Linked DNA regions of Homo sapiens: regions 1, 2, 3, 4 and 6 are each linked to region 5. The links are contacts of gene promoters, found by promoter capture Hi-C in blood cells and fetal thymus (Javierre and others, 2016). All regions are on one chromosome and are shown on one strand. Each heading gives the region's core, a stretch centred on a gene start or on the middle of the fragment in contact. The rest is flanking DNA. Distances are from core to core; before and after follow the strand shown.

Region 1 (3,345 bases), core at 255-2,754, 1.3 Mb before region 5:
GTGTGAATTTCTAATGTGAATAGCAAAATAAATGTTTCAAAAATTATATATTTTTGGTTTTGCTAGTGTTCTAAGCTGTATAGCACAAGTTATCTCTCATTCTGCTAAATTTTTGGTTTCAGAGCTTAGCTAGTTTAACATAAATCTATAACTAGATGTTAAGTTTGAAAGTGTTTTTCTCTTAATGATATGGTTTTTGGTATGTCTGCTGCCCACTGCCTTGTTTTTTAATGATATTGGACATGTTGAGGTTAATAGATAAATTGCCAGTTTGTAATCTAAAAATGATGAACTCTCTCTGATTCATTCTGTATTCTCCTTTGAATAATTTGCCTTATTCTCTTTATATACTCGCAAGGTTGTTGCATTATTACAACAAAGCTTAATTTCAAATTTTATATTTCTAAGTTTTAAGATTTTTTTAATTTGAGACAGGATCTTGCTCTGTCACCCAGGCGGCAGTGCCTTAGCACGATCAAGGCTCACTGCAGCCTTGAACTCCTGGGCTCGAGTAATCCTCCCACCTCAGTCTCCTGAATAGTAGCTTAGCCTCCTGAGTAGCTGGGATTATGGGAATGTGCCACCCTGCCTGGCTATTTTTTAAATTTTTTGTAAGGATGAAGTCTCCTTATGTTGCCCAGGCTGGTCAAGATATTAGTAGAAATTTTATTCTTCCTCAGCAACATTTTATTTTTTTCTTTTGTAATCCATATTTTTTTGCATCTATTACAGTTTTGCTATATGTATGTATTCATTTAGCAAGTTGAAATAATTATTTTAACAGATATTAACATAGAAGTCATTAACTATTTCATAATAAAATGTTTTGGAATAACTGGCAGTACATATATATTAGCTTTTAAGTGTTATTTTGAAGATGACAGATTCTATTTAATTTTTATGAGTTTTGGAAAGTCTTAAGTGGCAGTTATACTCTTTGTATCATGCCATCTCCATCTCCATTTAACATGTAGTTACCTTAAAAGATATATATGGAGAAAAGAAGTGGAGCAGATACAACCTATTTTCATTATTAGGTGACTATAATGATATTTTAACATTATATGCTTTCTAGAATGTTTAAGTATTTTATTATATTTGATTTTTATTGGGAATATTTAAAAATATTTTCATTCATTTTAATTGTCTGCCTCTGTTGGAAACAATTTTTCCCCTCAGTTTAGCATTTTTTAGCTTTTTTAGGGTATTTTATAGGTAAGACATATTCATTTGACAAAATTCAGAAAATAACATTAAAAAAGAAGAAAATAAAAAAGAAATTTTATCACCTAGAGATTATCACTACTGTCCTTATGGTATTGACCTTTTTCTCTGGGTTATATGGCAGGTGTGGTTTTTATTATTATTATTATTTTTTGAGACGGGTTTTCACTCTTGTTGTCCAGGCTGAAGTGCAATGGCACGATCTCGGCTCACCACAACCTCCGCCTGCCAGGTTCAAGCGATTCTGCTGCCTCAGCCTCCCAAGTAGCTGGGTTTATGGCATGTGCCACCACACCTGGCTTATTTTGTATTTTTAGTAGAGACAGGGTTTCTCCATGTTGGTCAGGCTGGTCTCGAACTCCCTATCTCAGGTGATCCACCTGCCTTGGTCTCCCAAAGTGCTGGGATTACAGGTGTGAGCCACCGTGCCTGGCCTGTGGTTTTTATTATTAATGCTTTGTGTACTAATTCAAGTAGTTAAATAACAAGTATTTGATATTTATATGTTTATTTGTTCATATTATTTTGAACTTCCTTAATGAACTAGCCTTAAAAATTAATAATAATGTATAATGCAAAATTGAAACAGTGTAGAAATGAAAAAATGTGCCTTGTGTGCTTGCAGCAGTTATACAAAGAAAGATATAGATCCATAAACAGAATTTGGATCATTTACCCATTCTGCACCCTTCCCTGTGGATATGTGTTTTTGATGGATAAATGAAAATTAGCCTTTCTGCTTATTTTCAGAATATTAAAATTATATTTATTTAATATGTTGGGTTAGATTATGTTCAGAATCTATTAAATTGGTAGTAAGGATGTTAAGGATGTTGTTGAGACATACATTTTAATAGATACGTAAAAATGTCTTAACAAATGTCTTACTTCTGTGGGTGGAGAAAGAGTGGAAAACGTGAGGTCAAGGTGTCTATCTCTAGGCTTTACACTACGAAATGAACTGGGGATTTGGGATTGAGGCATACATTTAACCTCTTAGGAGTTTCATATTTTAGGTACTCTTTTTTTTTTCTGTTGAAATTTATTTTATTATCTTATTTTTTTGAGACAGGGTCCTCACTCTGTTGCCTAGGCTAGAGTGCAGTGGCACAGTGATTGCTCACTGCAACCTTGACCTCCTGGGCTCAAGTCATTCTCCCACCTCAGCCTCCAGAGTCGCTGGGATTACAGACATGCACCACTATGGCCAGCTAATTTTTAAAATTTTCTGTAGAGATATGATCTTGCCATGTTGCCCAGGCTGGTCTTGAGCTCCTGGGCTGTAGTGATCCTCCTGCCTTGGCTTCCCAAAGTGTTAGGATTACAGGCATGAGCCACCACATCTGGCCTTATATACTCTTTACTTTCTGCATTGCTTTCTTCACAGTATCATGGTAAGCTTTGGGCAAAATAATAAAGCCTGCAAAATTTGTCTCTTGTTTCTGCCATCCAACTTTTGTTGATTTTGTTCCTCCTCTGTAGTTGTGTACCCCTTTCTCTGTGTGTTGGTATTGTTAGACCCCTAGATGATTGGCTAAAGTAATTTTTTATGAAGTAATTGGTTAAGATGTTTTTGATTGCTAATGGAAATATCTAATTTCTCCTAGAACCAGGCTCCACCAAAAACAAAAGGAAAACCCTGAGTATTTATTGAATACCTACTCTGTTTTAGGATACTTTTTTCTGGGAGAGAAAAAATTTTGCAAGGTGTTTCTGGGCCAGTGTAAAATCTATCTTTTGCGCACTAGGATTTAAGTACAGTAGCATGGAAGAGGGACTTTCTGTGATTGAATAAGGTGAAAAGAGCCTGAGGAGGCTGTAGAATGGTCTTAGAGGCTATGAAATAAGAGTAACTGATTAATAGCTATGAGTCCTGGACTCCATCGTCGTTAAAGCTATGTCAGGATACAGTGTAGGATTTCTTTTTATTATCCTTATTTCATAATTTAATGGCAATTTATTATATCTCGTAACAATATTTAAACCAAGGATCTCTGAAATTGAGTGTAATAGGAAACCTGGATATAGTTAACAGTAAAAGGTATTGTGTAAGAATTTTGCATTAGCCTGACCAAGGCCTGAGGGCCTGGAGATAACAGTAAGTAGAGTGGCTTTTTTTTT
Region 2 (3,174 bases), core at 544-3,043, 1.6 Mb before region 5:
GATGTCGGCTCACTGCAACCTCTGCCTCCTGGGTTCAAGCGATTCTCCTGCCTCAGCCTCCCGAGTAGCTGGGATTACAGGCGTGAGCCACCACGCCCAGCTAATTTTTTTTTTTTTAATATATTTTAGTAGAGACAGAGGTTTCACCATGTTGGCCAGGCGGGTCTCGAACTCCAGACCTCAACTGATCTGCCCACCGCTCTTCATTCTTGACCCTTAACTCATTAAATACGATATGTCTCTCGCTGACTACTCAGAACCTTTAAAAACGTGGTTGAAGCGAAATCTCTCCAGTGTTTGTGACATGGCAAAGCATGCTTCCCCCAACCCAAACAAAAACCTAACAAATGCAAAAACGAGCCTCCAGAGACAGAAAAAAGAAGGCAGCTAAAGTGAAAAAGCCACAAAAGATGTAGTGTTAGGATAAAAGAGGAAGGTTACTGACACTGGGGGAAATGAACTAAAGAGTATGAAAATAAAACATTTGTTTTCCCCTTAACTGAATGACGATTGAATCTTAGCTCATAGTGTAGAATATACCATCTGGAAAAGCAGAGTAAAACAGGATTAAACTTGCCCTACGACAAACATAAACGACATTTCCCTGTTTAAAGAGTCGAGGTATTTCTTAAAATCATAAAACAAAAAAATTAAGACTTAAGGATGAACTCATCTATGTATAATGCTCATTCACTTCCCCTTTATTTGTATACTTCTAGGGGTCTGGTGGTTCTAGCGACTGAAAATTCCTATCCAAATACCAATGACTTGAATCACATTTTCTAGGACTGCCACAAACAAAAGATTTATTTGGAGACGAATAAAAAGGGGCCGTAGGATTACCTACAAGAAGTTATTTCCTCCTGAGATTGATGGCACAACCTTGTCAGCAAATTGCTGTTGCCTCTCTCAGTTACCAAAAATAACCCGTAACAAACACCAGGCTTGGGTGTAAGTTCTTTCCTAAGGGAACAACTCAGCAGAGCTGTTTATAACTAGAGAGGAGGAAACAATAATCTGCAAGATGTCGCCAGGTCGGCAACGCGAACTGACTTTGACTGGGGGTTCAGCTCTGCTCCTGCGCCGAGGCGAGGACCGCAGGTTTAGCGCGGTCCCACACACACCTGCCCCGGGCGGGAGGGCACCGAGGCGCGCGGGACGCACGAGAGTCCCGCCCTTCCCGGGTCGCCCCCGACCCGGGCAGTCGGATAGGGTCCCGCACCCGGGCCCCACCTCACCTTCACGGGCGGAGGCGGCCTGGGGAGGCCCTCTAAGGCCCCCCTCACGCCCAGCGCGGCCGCCGCCCCGACCTCAGCGATGAGGTTGTGGCCGCAGGCGTGGCCGATGCCGGGCAGCGCGTCGTACTCGCAGAGGAAGCCCAGGTGCAGCGGGCGTGGCGTGGCGCTCGGTGCCCGGGCCTCCGGCGGCTCCCACTCGGCGCGGAAGGCCGTGGGCAGCTGGTAGTGCGGCTGCACTGCCCAGGAGGCCGCGGGCGGCTCCCGCTCGAAGAAGTGCGTCAGCACGCGGTGGGCATGGTGCTCCTCGTAGGCCAGCTCGGGCTGGCTCCAGATCGCGCGGCTCAGGGCCCCCAGCCGCTCGGCCGCCTCGTCGATGCACTCCGCCGAGCGCAGCTTCAGTAGCTCCAGCTCGGAGCGGCCATTGCACGCGCCCCCTTCCACGGGCCGCTCCCCTCCGGGCCTCATGCTGCCCAAGCCCGCTGCCCTCTGCGCCCTCTCGCTCCCTGGCTCGGCCGCAGGTAGCGACCGCCCGCGCACGCGCCCAGAGGCCTCCAGGACCCCGGCGGAGCGCGCACGCGGCCACACAGCTCCCAGGGCACCACCCCCAGTCCCGGGGCCGCCCCCGGCGCCGCGCGGGAAACGCTGGCGGCCGCTCGTACCCTACCAGGCGCTCTGCCCCGCCGTGGGGTTTTGGGGGTGCTGTGGAGAAGGCAGGGCTCGGGACTCTTCCACCTCCTTGGCTGCTCTGGCCTTTGAGTTATGCTCTAAGATTATCGATTACTTTTCCGTTGTTGCTTATTTCCCACAGCAGCAGAATGAGAACGGTTATTAGTTAATAGCCATCAGAGACAGACCAAGTGGAACACAGTCCTCGGAAAAACGCCACTCTGTAGCATTAGTAATTAAAACCTCACAAGGTTTGTATTTCCTGAAGGAGGCCGTCAGTGTCAATGCTGTACTAACGACGGTACTGTACGTAAGTTTCGGTACTGCCCCCACTTTCTTCTCCTTGACATTGTATTACTAAAAGCTGCAGCTACTCTCTACAGTTTTCTCATTGGTTACTAATGTCTGGAACAGCAGCTAGATTATGCAGTAAGCTCTTGGTATGTATTAGCTATTATATAATAATTTATTTGAATAGAGTAGAACTAAAAATTTGAAATGAGTTAAAACCAAAGAGTTAAAAGATTTATGGTAGTAAATATTCATACTGTTTTGTTGATTTGGACAGTTGTCTTGAACAGCTTTGAAAGGGAACATATGACAGGTTTCGTTTATAATTTTAATTGATGCTGAACTCCACTAACATGATATGTGCAGCTGGTGTTACATTATAACTGAGTTTTTTAATTACCCAGTGAAGAAATTCAAGATGTCATGCTCTTGTTTTTCTCCAGAGTGAACCACAAAGTCTGAAAAACTGTTGTTGACGGTATGCCTATTAATAACACTGTAGATGTTTATATTCTGAGGTTTTCCACATATTAAAAGCTTCTATCAGCTCTTCATACCCTATCATCTTTCCTTAATTTGTCTCAACTATGTTAAATGGGACACAATATATTAATGTGATAAACCAAATGAATATTTTGAAAATAAGTCTAAGGGAAGCTAACATGCACGAAGACTATCAACTACTGTTTTTACTACTCTATATGCTAATAATACCAGAGTAAATGTCACATTCCATTCACGTCTGAAAACTTTCTTTCTCAGTTAACACTCCAACAAAAACTCAGCTCTAAAAACAACAAATGTGTTATTAAATTCCTGGGCCCCCTTGGCGATAATAAATCTTTCTCTGGTATTCTGCTGAAGAAAATTACCCTGTATCCACGAGATCCAATATTATCCTGCTCAGTTAGTTGGCTAAAAAAAGGGGAGAAGGGGGGATTGGAGAGCAAAAGCAATAGGTGACATTTGTAGAGCAATT
Region 3 (3,101 bases), core at 166-2,665, 1.3 Mb before region 5:
CAGATTCCCTTAGCAATTGCTAATCCTGCAAAGATTTTATTTCTCCTTCGCTTATGAAGCTTAATTTGGTGGGATATGGAATTCTTGGCTGGAATTTCTCCTAGGATGCTAAATATAGGCCTCCAGTCTCTTCTGGCTTATAAGATTTCTACTGAGAAGTCTGCTGTTAGCCTGATGAGGTTCCCTTTATAGGTGATATGACTCTTTTTCTAGTTGTCTTTAAGATTTTTTCTTTTACATAGACCTTGGAAAGTCTGATGACTCTGCCTTGATGATGGTCGTTTTGTATAGTACCGTACAGGGGTTTTCTGAGTTTCTTATATTAGCATGTTGACCTGTCTAGCAACTTTGGAGACATTTTTGTGGATTATATTCTCAAATATGTCTTTCATGGTGCTTACTCTTTCTTCTTAGGAATATCGTGGGTTGTAGGTTTGGTCACTTTATGTAATCCTATTATTTCTCAGAGGCTTTGTTCATTTGTTGAAGATTCTTTTTCTTTATTTTTGTCTGACTCAGTTGCTTCAAAGGATTGGTCTTCAAGCTCTGAGATTCTTTCCTCTGCTTGGTTTAGTCTGTTGTTAAGCATCTCTTATAAGGCCGGTTGTTAAGATTTTTAATTGTATTTTGAAATTCCTGTGGTGAATTGAATTTCAGATTGGTTCTTCCTTAGTATAGCTATGTTATATTCCAAATCTTGGATTGTTTTTCTGACTTCCTTGGATTGGATTTCAACCTTCTCTTGGGTCTTGTTGAGCTTCCTTGCCATCCATATTCTGAATTCTGTGTCTATAATTTCAGACATTACGTTCTGGTTGGGATCCATTGCTAGGGAGTATATGCAATCCTTTGGAAATAACAAAACACTCTAACTTTTTGAATTGCCAGAGTTCTTGCACTGATTACTTCTCATCTGAGGGAACTGGTCCTTCTTTTTGTTTTTGAATTTGCTGTTGATTGAATGGGTTTTTTTTTTTTAAATATTCTTTTTTCCCTTGAGAGTTTGATGGTGGTAAATGTTGTGTATAGTCAGTTGGCTTCATTTCTGGGTGCTTTCAGAGGGCCAAGGCTCTGTATGAGTTCCTTGGTTGTAGATAGGTTTCTATGAGGGTTTCACAGGCTTTGCATGTTGAAGCAGTGTATTTTGTTTTGCTGTGTAATTCAAGCTGCAGTTGGTGCTTAAATATAAGGGCAGATAGGCTCTTACACAGCTGCGCATGCTCCCTTTGTATTTCATTGTGTCCTCAGCAGTGCTCTGGAGAGAGGACGCAGGGTAAGAGATGACTTTCTCTCATAGTCTGTTCTTAAGCCTTGGTGGTATCCCCCTCAGCTACTGGCACTGTCTCACGTTTCCTTTGCTCTGTGTGGGGCTTTGGTGGGCTTCTCTTCCTGCTCGCTTAGATATGATTCAAGCCAAGGGTTAGGCCACCAGGAGACCTGAAACTCCTTAGGGACCTACCAGTCCCCTGTGCTTGTCAGTAAGAGTGGGTTGTGGGGTATGTCTGCAGGTGGTCTGGTAATGCAGTGGGTCAAGCAAGGGTGGTAGATCCTCAGGCAGGGAAGTGGCACCGTATGTGTGTGTAGCCAGTATAGTGACCATGGCCCGGGTTTGCAGCCCAGCCGATGGCTGTGTGGCCCTCACAACTTGCACTCCCCTGACCTGGTTGGTCTCTGTCTGATGTCTGTCTCAGGAGCAGGCGCAACCAGACTGGCCAGGCTTGTCTCAAAAGCCCTGCGTGCCCAGTTCGTTGAGCCATTTCAGATGCTCCAAGCCACGGAGCTTCCTGGGGAAGAAACCTTGGCTGGCTGTCAGGCCACACCCATCCTGGACTGGTCTTCTGAAGAGAGGTTGCTTAGTTTCCATGCCACACTCTTCTCTGTATTCTGAGAGTGAAGGCTCCTTTCCTGCCCAAGCTCAGGCCACAGAGCTTAACTCAATACCCCTGGGCAGTGTGCTTGAGTCCTGGGGAAGTGGGACCAGGCCTGCACATTTGTCCTCTGGCCCCTTAGGATCAGCCAGCAGGCTGCCAGCAGAACACTCAGGCAGGGAAGTGGAGGCTGTTCTGTGGGCACTGTCTTGCAGGAGCAGCCAGGCAGGCAGTCTTTGAAGAGTTGGCAGGCAAAGGGGCATGTGGATCAGATACACTATGGTCCTATGGCAGTGGCAGTCTTACTCTCTTCGCCCTGCAGATAGCAGGACCTGCAGCCACTCAGTACAAGCTGGAGAGCCTTGGAGGATGGGCCCTATGGTGGTGTTTTGCTGCAGCTGCACCGTGGTCTGTGGGGCTCATGGCTAGAATCTTGTAGCTAGGATCCCAGAGGACCATGGTGGGAGTGTGGTGCCCCAGGGTTCCTTTACTCAGCCCTCCCTTAGGTCCACACTGGAACTGGGGGCCAGTCCTGGTGCCTAGTTACTCCAAGCAGTCTACGTCGCTTCTTCCCTCTTCAAACACTGTGTCTGCTTTGCCTCTCTATTGGCTTTCAGTGTTTTCTCTCAAAAGATCTGTTCAAAGTTGCAGGATTTTGTATTGTCAAGTTTTGGTGGTTCAAAGTGTGGTGGCTTACTTGATATTTTGGTTCCTTTTCATGGAAGAGGCGTTTTTCAGCTGTAGGTAGTTGGCCGTCTTGCCTAGAACTCTTTTTTATATTCTTAATGATGTCTTTCAAAGAGCAAACCCTTGCTATTTTGAAATAGTCTAATTTATCAGTATTTTTCTTCATTTTATGCTTTTTGTGTTTTATCTAAGAAACTTTTTCTACTCTAAGCTTGCAAAGATTTACTCCTGTATTTTCTTCTAGAAGTTTTGTAAATCTAGCTAGTTTATTTCTATATTTGATCTTAGTTGCACTGTATCAGTATGATCTATATATACAGAGAAGAATAATTTGTAGAAGGTAATATTAGAAAGATACAGGCTGGGCATTGTGGCTCATGCCTGTAATCCCAGACTTGGGGAGGCTGAAGTGAGAGGATTGCTTGATCCCATGAGTTTGAGACCAGCCTGAGCAACATAATGAGACCCTGTCTTTACCATAGAAAAAAATTAGCTGGGGATGGTGGTGTGAGCCTGTAGTTCCAGCTACTCTGGAGGTTGAGGTGG
Region 4 (3,390 bases), core at 852-3,351, 1.3 Mb before region 5:
TTTGTATTCATTGTAGAAAAGTTAGAAAATGAAGATAAGGAACAGGACAAACACGAAAAACATATGTAATTTCACCAGTTAGAGATGGTTGCTGCTTACATTTTGGTGTGTATGCTTTTAGACTTTTCCCTCTGTCTATATATATTTTTTGTTTCATTGACTAAATGAAAAACATATTCATTCCACAATTTTTTAAGTGTCTGTTATGTGCCAAGTACCAGGTTCTCTTATTTTCTTCCTTTCTTTTTGTTGAATTACTTATTCTGGTAATTATGCTTTTGTCAATAGTACATACATTCTTGTTCTCTGCCTGTACCTTTTCATGACAAATTGTTCTTGGTTTATGGTTGTGATAGCTTCTTGAATCTCTATGAGAATACTAGTTAAAAGCATATTTAAAGTTATCTTTCTCTTCCTTGAATCATCTTTCTTCTTTATGTTTCTAGTTTCTTCAAATGTGTGGTGATCCTTGGTTGGCTGTGCATTTGAAACGAGGCAGAGAAGCTGCTTGGAAGCTCCATGAATGTGGGCTGGGTTTGTCAATTTCTGACCTTTGCTTTATGATAAGCAGTTGTGCTTAGGTGCTCTTCCCTCACTACCCATTTGGTTCAGTTTCTTTTACTTTCTTTCTTTTTTTTTTCTGTTCACCCTCCCACCCTGTTTCAGTTTCTTTAGAGAAGAGCTCTCTGATTTTTCTTTTCTTTTGCTTGAGGAATAACCTGTGTGTTGTGTGTATGAGTTGTGAGAATTTAATTGTTGTACATAGCTAAAAATAACCAATCCCTCCTTTTCAGTCCATATGTCACTGTAGTCATCCTGTGCACTTGATGTTTCTGGGTCTGGATCTTCTTTGGGGTTTTGTAAAATAGGCACCTCCATCTGTGAATCCTGCTACCTCTGTGCATGCTTCTCAGCACTTTTCAGTACTTCTCCGTCTATTTCTTGTCAACCAGAAATTTATTGAAATAGTGCATCTGCTGATGCTCTTTTCTCCTTCCCTTCATTATCTTCATTGTTATAGCCATTTCTAATAAATTACCCTAAAATTACCCCAAAATATAACAGTTTAAAATTCAAATATTTACTGTCTCATCGTTTCTTGGGAGCAGTGTGGTTGGGTGAGTCTTTTTTGTTTTTCTTAAATCCATAGCCTCAAGCATTTATCCCTTGTTACAAGCAATCCAATGATACTCTAAGTTATTTTGGAAAGTACAGTTAAGTTATTGTTGACTATAGTCACCCTATTGTGCTATCAAATAGTAGGTCTTATTCATTTATTCTTTTTTTTTGTACCTATTAAGCTGGGTGATTATGGTTCAATGTCGTCTATCAGATTGCAGTCAAGCTGTTGGCCAGGGCTGTTGTCATTTCAAGGGTCCACTTCCAAGCTCATGTGTATGGTTGATGGCAGGCCTCAGTTCCTCAGCTGGCTGTTGGCATGAGACCTCCATTTCTTACCAGTGGGGAGGAAAAACTTTCCTGTACCCACTTAGGTTCAATAGTTAGGGGCCTACAAATTAAACTGACAAAACATAGATTAGCAAGAGAAAAAACAAAGTTTATATGTGTATGGAAGCACATAAAAGAAGTGGCTTACAAGATGGTTGAAGTTAGTATTCCTAACTTAATGGGACTATGCCTAAAGTTTGTATTCCTAACTTAATGTCTCAAGTTTGTATGTCTAATTTAATGGTGGAAAGGGAAGGTGGAGAATAGGCTTCAGTGTAAGAAAAAAAATGGAATTCTTTAGGAAGGATAAGTGGATTTTTAGAGGAACAAATAGGAGGTAAGAAATGTTTGTTTTTATGGGGGGGAATGGTCTTTTCCATCTTCTTCGTGGCCATAAACTCCTGGAGAGGGGATTTATGATAGTTTTACTCTCAGTCTTCTTTCTGGGAGTGAAGCCACCTAGAAGAAAGGATTTATGGTAGCTTAATTCCCGGAAGTTTCTGCTTTTAGTCAGATAAGGAAAGCTCTGAACAGCCACCTTTCTGCATTTGTTGACTCTCAAATGTCTTCTGGTTAAAATAATCTTCATACCAGCTCTGGGGTTCCGAGTGGGTTCTCACAGCTGCCTGAGTGTCCTCACCATATGGCAGCCAGCTTTACTTATAGCAAATGATCTAAGAGAACACCCAAGATAAAAGTAGTAGTCTGTTTATAATCTAATCTAATCTAGCCCAAGAGGTGACATACAATCCACTTCTGCCATATTCTATTTGTTGTAACATATAAGTCTAGCCCAAACTTAAAGGAGGGGAATTAAGCTCCATCTCTTGAGGTTAAGAGTGTCAAATAATTTTGTGGACTTTCAGGACATATTTTTCAGGACCATATAGCTTTATACTTAAAAAAAAAAAAACTCTGCTATTATTTCAGTAGTGTCTTGGGAAGAATCATTCTATTGTATGGAACATTCCATTGTATAAGTGCATCATACTTTGAAAATTTCTGTGTGGTTGTAAATTTAGCTTGTTTTGAAAGTTTTGCTTTTATAAGAATACCATGATAATATTATTCTAAATAACTTTTTTGAATGAGTAATTATTCATCTGATAGCTTATTATAGGAGTTTATTGCTATGGTCTGTATACTCTAGAATACATTTATGGAAATATGCATACATTTTCTTTGGAGCAAAATCCTCCAGTATATTTATTATTGTAGCAGTTTTTGTAGTAAAAACTACAAACAGCATTTTCTGAAATAATTAATGTATTTTAATGATTTATTGAATAGATCTGAACAATTGTCACTTTTGATTTCATTTTGGGATCTTATGACTTCGCTAGATGGCAGCAGAGGACCAGGTTTAATTCAGACTGCTTTTGTGAAGCAGTAGAATTCTAATGGTATCCAGTGCATTGGACATCTATTTTATAATACAACCCAGAATATTAGCTGGGGATTATTAAGAATTTAGTAAGGATTAGTGGGATCATATATACAGCATTACTGAAAGCATAGCCATTTTGACAATGTTGGTATGTTCTTTTGTGCATTGCATCTGAATTATTATATTTGCAAATGACCTTAAAGTGCCATTTTGGACCTTTTTTGGTAAAAACAATGTAGCCGTATTAAAGTCCCTAGAAGTGTTTTTTCTGTATCAGGAAACTGAGACATTCTTAAGTTGAAATCTCAGAAGGGAAGAATGATATGAAGATTCTCTTTTATCCCATTTGGATTTTTTTTTTTTTTTTTGCTCTTAATTGTGTTGGGAGCAAAGGAGTCTAATAGAAAAACATGATGTTGGAATGTAGCTCTTTTATTTATAGGCAGTGAAATTTATGTTCATAGGATAGAAAAGTTATTTGACTTGTATGTGGTATATGAGGAACAGTAATTTTTATATATGTGCCCTAATGATATATTTTGGGGAAAAAATTC
Region 5 (3,372 bases), core at 153-2,652:
AACCGTTTTAATCAAAATAAAAAATCAGATCCATGACATAGCCTTCTTCATCAATCCATTGTTTTAACATAGGGAGAATGTAGCTTCTTCATGTGCATTTTTCAGCTTTCTCAGACAGCTTAACTTCAGGGGCTTCCCGCTGCACTTACAATAGAACTCAAGGTCTTACTTTTTGTGGTCCAGAACAGCGCTGTCCAACAGAACTTTCTGTAATGATAGAAATGTCCTATATCTGCACTATCTAAAATGGTAGCTGCAGCCACATGTGATGATTGAGCACTTGAAATGTGGTTAGTGCAACGGAGAAACTGAATTTTTATTTAATCTTACTTTATTTTAACTCAAATTTAAATAGCCACATGTGGTGAGTGACTAACACATTGGACAATACAGCTCTAGGGCTTATCTTCTTACCAACTACACTATGTCTTGCAATTTCTTGCCATCTAGGTAGCCAACATGAGGAGGTCTATAAGATATCCCACCACACACACCCGCATCCACATTACTTTTTCATTCTCATTTTTCATGACGCTCCCACTCTTTGTCTACTTTCTGATTATGATTTTTAAATTCCTCTAATATGCCATTTTATTTCTATCTTCTGGGCCGAAGAAACATGCTGTTCTCTCTGCCCTCCTCGCCCTAATCCTTAACCTAACTTCTACTCATTTTTCAGGTCTCAGCGAAAGGGTCACTTTCTCCAAAAAGCCTCCGCTAACCCCCGACAACCTATATTAGGTTCTTCCCACTCTTCTGTTGTCTGCCTAGAACTCTTTTCCTTGCTAACACTTAAAATTTGTGATCGTCAGTTTATCTATGTTTACCGACTTTCTTGACTGCAGAAACTGAATCTGTTTTGTTTACCACTGCATCTTGGTACCTAACGGAGTGCTTGGCGCACAGTATTTGTGAGATGGAAAAATGAGAGACTGGGCCACATCATCAGGACATCCGACCTCCACCAACCAGAACTTAAAAATCCTCCTAGCCATACCACAAGGCAGATCCGCGTCCTCGCTCCCCAAGCAAAGTTGGCCTCAACTGATCTGGAGCAAGGACGCCTCAGCTCAGTACGCCGCTCCCTCCCTCCTCTCCAGCCAGGGAAGGGATGCCTACGTAACCTCGGCTTCATCCCTTCTTCAAAGGGGAATGAGGCAGCGGTAGAGCCACAGTGCGCATCGGCCACCACATACCTTAGACATCGAGGACGTAGCCATGGTCTTACTGACTCTGCGTATTCCAGATGCACTCGGGATTTCCCGCGCGCCCTCGCGGCTGCAGGGCAGAGGTTAGTGGCGAGCCACACGGCTCCTTGATTGGCTGGCATCACCCTCCGGGGCGGGTTTCCGGCGCGGGGAGGCGGGTCGTATAAGGAGGTGGGGCGAGGCCGGAACTGGCGGACTGCGGCGCACTTCCGTAGAGGTGGACATGGCGTGCGGCTTTCGCCGCGCTATTGCTTGCCAGGTATGGATCCCGGAGCGCGCAGAGGAGTCCCTGAGGAGCTAGGGACCCCAAAGGCCTTTCACCGCTGCGGGCCAGTCCTCAGTCAGCTGGAGGGTGGGTCCCACGGAATCCTGTTAGTTTCTACCACCTCCTCCCCCTTCTCTGGAGCTGGTGGAGCTTCAGAAGTCCTGTGGAGCGTCGGCTGGGATCAGTTTGTCTCGGTGAAAAGTAAACTTTGAAAGGTACCTGGTGCTTTCTTCTCTCCTTCCCACCCCACAGCTATGAATGCTTTACCTGGGTGGCGGCAAGTCATTAGACCATGATTAGACCCCATAGAAGTTAGTGTTCTTTACACTTTAGTGACATTGATGATGGATCTGGATTGTTCTTCAGAAGGACCTCATTTTAAAGCTGCTTATTTCTCTTGCAGTCACTTAGGCAGCCTACCCTAGAATTGTTTTTGGTAACGCCCAAAGATATAAGAGCTATCTGAGACTCAGTTTTTCTTGGTTCAGGGTCGTATTTGAACAGCTCTGTTGTGAGGAAGGGCTTACAAAATTGCAATATAATTGCTTTGTTTTGTTTTTCCTTTTTGTGGAGAACGGGGTCTCGCCGTATTGCCCAGGCAGGCCTCAAACTCCTGGGCTCAAGCTGTCCTCCCTCCTCTGCTTCCCTAAGAGCCGGGATTACAGGCCTGAGCCACCGCGCTGGGCAAAATTGCAGTATAAATGTGGAATTAATCAAAAAGAATTTTTAAGACTCATTGGCCACCCTTGCAAGGAAACTTTCTATTGTGGTCTTGGCTAACCCATTTCCTTCTGATTAATGGATGTACTAGTGGACGTAATTAGCCTGGTGTATAATTTATCTTGGCTCATTTTTACAGTATTTCTAGACATTTGTGGGGAAATCCCTCTGCCTTGTCTTTATGTTTATAGATGTACTGCCCTGTCCGGTGATAATTCGCCAAATATCACCAACATGACATTTTGTTAAGACAGCTGAATTTATTGCTCACTGGGATAAGGAAGAACACCACTGAGAGCTTTGGTAGTGTATTAAACTGGGAAAGCAAGGTCAGATTTTACTGATGGGTATGGCTTAAGGCTGGTCTTTCAGAGGGAGAGGGTAGGAGGGTGTTGGAGGAAGATGGCTTGATTAGGGTTGGACTCTGATCTGATACAGCGGTTTAAGATTGATAGGAAAAGCAAAGAGTGCAAGAAGCCTTAAGGCATAAACTATTGAGGTTTTCTATTGGAAGAACTAATAGGCCTGGCATGTGGTTCATGCCTATAATCCCAGCACTTTGGGAGGCCAAGGTGGGAGGATGGCTTGAGCCCAGGAGTTCGAGACCAGCGTGGACAACATAGGTAGACCCCGTCTCAACAAAATTTTTTTTAAAAAGTAGCCAGGCATGATGGTGCACCTCTGTAGTCCTAGCTGCTTGAAAGGCTGAGTCTGGAGGATCACTTGGACGGACCCACGAGTTTGAAGCTACAGTGAGCTATGATTGTGCCACTGCACTCCAGGGTGGGTGACAGAGCGAGACCCTGTAAACAAAAAATAAAAATAAAAAACGTGAAAAGCTAATAGATTTCTCATGAAGTTCTTATAATGAATGATTAAGTTATTTGGGCAGAAGTCTTCTAGAACAGTAAAGTTATGCTAATGAAGACAAAAAATAATAAATTCATGTTAATGTAGACAGTAAACCATATCAGGGAAGGTAGTTTTGGACCTTAGTATCTAAGCTGTGTGTAAGGGTGGACGTTTTCCATTCTTAGCCCTTAAGTAAAGATAGTGCCATGATGAGAAACAAATTGTGTTTAGTTTTGCAAAGGCTGTGTTCTTTGTAAAGACTGTAAATTGGACCAGGCATGGTGGCTCACACTTGTAATCCCAGAACTTTGAGAGGCCGAGGTGGGA
Region 6 (3,131 bases), core at 531-3,030, 1.4 Mb before region 5:
ATAGTTTATTCCTTTTTTATTGCAGAGTAGTAGTTTATTGTTCTGGGTATACCACAATTTGTTTACCTGTTCATCTATTGATGGTCATTTGGGTTATTTCCAGTTTTTAGCTATTACAAATAAACCTGCTGTGAACATTCATGTACAATTCTTTGTGTGGACATATACTTTCATTTCTCTTGTGTAAGTCTCTAGGAGAGGAATGGCTGCATCATATGGTAGGTGTATGTTTTAAGAATTTTAAGAAACTGCCAACCTCTTTTCCAAAGTGGTAACACTTGATAGTCCCACCATCAATGTATTATACAGAAGAAATTCAAAGGACTTAAAAACTAGCAAAAAATTTGGACACTTCACAAAATAAGTTATATGAATAGCCAAAAAGCTATGATGGCGTGGTGGTATGTGCCTGTAATCCCAGCTACTCGGGAGGCCGAGGCAGGGGAATCACTTGAACCCAGGAGACGGAGGTTGCAGTGAGCTGAGATTGCACCACTGCACTCCAGCATGGGTGACAGAGTGAGACTCCATCTCAAAAAAAAAAAAAAGTAATTTGTACTTATCGTGTAATTTATTAGTAAGGGTTCTCTAGAGGGACAGAACTAATAGGAAATATATGTACATATATATATATACACACACACACATACATACACACACACACATACAGACGTAAAGGGGAGTTTATTAACTGTTAACTCACACGATCACAAGGTCCCACAATAGGTTGTCAGCAAACTGAGGAGCAAGGAGAGTCAGTCTGAGTCCCAAAATGGAAGAACTTGGAATCCAGTGTTTGAGGGCAGGAAGCGTCCACCACAGGACAAAGATGTAGGCTGGGAGGCTAAGCCGGTCAAGTCTTTTCACATTTTTCTGCCTGCTTTATATTCTAGCCATGCTGGCAGCTGATTAGATGGTGCCCACCCAGATTAAGGGTGGGTTTGCTTTTCCCAGCCCACTGATTCAAATGTTAATCTCCTTTGCAACACCCTCTACACCCAGGATCAATATTTTGCATCCTTCAATCCAATCGAGTTGACACTCAGTATTAACCATCACAGTAATTTCTTTGATATTTTGCATATTGAGGAAAATGTTATGGCTGCTCAAACTTATATGTTGTAAATGTTAGGATTCACTTTACTAGTACTAGAAGTTCATAATTTTCCTGAATCAGAAAGAAAATGGTACTAACTACATATAATTTGTTTCTCTGTGAAGTCACTTTCTCTGATGAAACCAGACTTGCAATGAGAGAGAGCTCTTGGAGACAGGGCCAAGCTTTATTTTCTGAAGAACTGTTTTTTCCTCCTTCTGAGTTAATAGATTTCAGGTGAATACTTGGAAGAAAACAAACTTATAATTTCTTTTCCTTTTTCCTTTTTTTCTTTTCTTTTCTTTTCTTTTTTGTATTTTTAGTAGAGATGGGGTTTCACCATGTTGGCCAGGCTGGTCTCCAACTGCTGACCTCGGGTGATCCGCCTGCCTTGGCCTCCCAAAGTGTTGGCATTACAGGTGTGAGCTACCGCACCCAGCCCTCCCTAGTTTCTTAAAGATATATCATTCAACATAAAATTATTTCATATCTGCTATGTAAAGAGCTTACTAGGAACTGTGGGAATGTAAATATGAGACACAGCCAGGTGCATTGGCACATACTTGTGGTCCCAGGTACTCAGGATAGTGTGATGGTGATAGTGATGGTGATTTTGAAGTCATTTTATTTAGCAAATATTTAAATGTCTACTTTGTGCTAGTCCTGGGTGCTAGGGAGATGGCTAAGATATATTACCCTTAAAAAGCAGAGTCTCATGGGAGTAGCAAACCATCCATTTTAAGCACAGTTCTGTTGTAAAAAATGTAGCAATGACTCTATTGTGGTATATGATGGGAATCAGAGGTAATAAACCTAATTCTTTGAGGTTGAGGAAGAAGAGATGGGAAGGAAGAAGGAGATCAGGTGAGACTTCCCAGAGAAGGTCATACATGAATTATCTTCAGTAAATAGAAGTTTTCTAGATAAATAGTTGGCAGGGGGTGTTATTGAAAGTTTCTGTTAGGATAGGATGATGATGGGAGAGATAATAGACTGAAAAAGTGTCTTTGTTCTGGAAGATGTAAGTGAGGTTAAGAGGTTGGAGAATAGCCTGATCATACAGGCAAGTAGGGTGTGATAAGGTATCCTAATATTTATATGCTTTAAATTTTCAGTGGCATACAATTGCAGTTTTTTTTTTCAGCATCGAGATGAGATTATTTGAATCCAAGTTAAAAGCTTACTTTGACTTTTCTGTGTTTAATGAATTGATGGAGAAAAGAGTGGAAATGGAGAGACTAATTAGGAACTTGTTGTAGTCCAGGTGAAAGACAATAGTGATAGTTTAAAAGTGACAGATGAAGAGTAGAAGGCTAATTTGAGAGATATTAAGAAGGGAAAATGGACAGAACTTGATGTCGTATTTAGAATGAGGGAAAGAGGGTCAAAATTTAGTCTCAAATGTCTGGCTTATGCACATGAGATAGTTGATATTATTAGGGCTTACTGAGAGAGAAGCAGGTTGGAGGAGATATTAAGATCCTGATTGCTCAAATAGAGATCTTTAGTAAAGATCTTTTTAAAAAACATTTTTATGTTATTTCAGTAGTTTTTGGGGGACAGGTGGTTTTTGGTTACATGGATAAGTACTTCAGTGATGATTTCTGAGATTTTGGTGCACCTGTCACTCAAGGAGTGTACACTGTAGTAGTCTTTTATCCCTCATCCCCCCTCTCCACACTTCCCCCTGAGTACCCAAAGTCCATTATATCATTGTTATGTCTTTGCATTCTCATAGCTTAGCTCCCACTTACAAGTGAGAACACAGGATATTTGGGTTTCCATTCCTGAGTTACTTCACTTAGAATGATGGGGTCCAACTCCATCTAGGTTGCCATGAATGCCATTATTTCATTCCTTTTTATGGCTGAGTAGTATTCCATGGTATATATACATATCACATTTTCTTTATCCACTCATTGGTTCTTGGGCATTTAAGCTGGTTCCACATTTTTGCAATTGCAAATTGTGCTGCTGTAAACATGCCTGTGCAAGTGGCTTTTTCAGATAATGACTTATTTTCTTCTGGGTAGAT

What was found. Contacts are between HindIII fragments. The CHiCAGO score rates a contact against its expected background, and 5 or more counts as called.
Region 1: a fragment that was not itself captured here is called in contact with the fragment with the promoter of RARS2 in region 5 in 1 of 17 cell types (erythroblasts); the score reaches 5.1 in erythroblasts.
Region 2: a contact is called between the fragment with the promoter of PM20D2 here and the fragment with the promoter of RARS2 in region 5, in 1 of 17 cell types (total CD8 T cells). The highest score is 5.0, in total CD8 T cells.
Region 3: a contact is called between a fragment that was not itself captured here and the fragment with the promoter of RARS2 in region 5, in 1 of 17 cell types (M0 macrophages). The highest score is 5.2, in M0 macrophages.
Region 4: a fragment that was not itself captured here is called in contact with the fragment with the promoter of RARS2 in region 5 in 4 of 17 cell types (total CD8 T cells, total B cells, naive B cells and 1 more); the score reaches 6.3 in total CD8 T cells.
Region 6: a fragment that was not itself captured here is called in contact with the fragment with the promoter of RARS2 in region 5 in 2 of 17 cell types (fetal thymus and total B cells); the score reaches 6.3 in fetal thymus.

Annotation. Positions count from the first base shown.
Region 1 is chr6:88,887,062-88,890,406 of GRCh38, reverse strand. All of the region lies in intron 8 of RNGTT (RNA guanylyltransferase and 5'-phosphatase), which reads left to right. Among named protein-coding and RNA genes, the nearest start is that of RNGTT, 75 kb to the left of the region's middle. The HindIII fragment of the contact is 2,242 bases long and covers 384-2,625 here.
Region 2 is chr6:89,144,674-89,147,847 of GRCh38, reverse strand. PM20D2 (peptidase M20 domain containing 2) reads right to left here and starts at 1,793. Exons shown (of 7, transcript NM_001010853.3): 1 at 1,239-1,793. The coding sequence starts at 1,703. It overlaps LOC101929004 (a long non-coding RNA gene), which reads left to right and starts at 982. Exons shown (of 4, transcript XR_942766.4): 1 at 982-2,155. RefSeq lists a silencer at 1,047-1,976. The HindIII fragment of the contact is 3,355 bases long and covers 1-2,734 here.
Region 3 is chr6:88,907,847-88,910,947 of GRCh38, reverse strand. The region is part of intron 4 of RNGTT (RNA guanylyltransferase and 5'-phosphatase); the gene reads left to right. Among named protein-coding and RNA genes, the nearest start is that of RNGTT, 54 kb to the left of the region's middle. The HindIII fragment of the contact is 2,707 bases long and covers 62-2,768 here.
Region 4 is chr6:88,870,326-88,873,715 of GRCh38, reverse strand. The region is part of intron 8 of RNGTT (RNA guanylyltransferase and 5'-phosphatase); the gene reads left to right. Among named protein-coding and RNA genes, the nearest start is that of RNGTT, 92 kb to the left of the region's middle. The HindIII fragment of the contact is 4,616 bases long and covers 1-3,390 here.
Region 5 is chr6:87,588,017-87,591,388 of GRCh38, reverse strand. RARS2 (arginyl-tRNA synthetase 2, mitochondrial) reads left to right here and starts at 1,402. Exons shown (of 20, transcript NM_020320.5): 1 at 1,402-1,467. The coding sequence starts at 1,432. It overlaps ORC3 (origin recognition complex subunit 3), which reads right to left and starts at 1,254. Exons shown (of 20, transcript NM_012381.4): 1 at 1,197-1,254. The coding sequence starts at 1,220. RefSeq lists enhancers at 1,318-1,547, 1,311-2,272. The HindIII fragment of the contact is 3,839 bases long and covers 1-3,372 here.
Region 6 is chr6:88,958,858-88,961,988 of GRCh38, reverse strand. The region is part of intron 1 of RNGTT (RNA guanylyltransferase and 5'-phosphatase); the gene reads left to right. Among named protein-coding and RNA genes, the nearest start is that of RNGTT, 3.2 kb to the left of the region's middle. The HindIII fragment of the contact is 994 bases long and covers 1,284-2,277 here.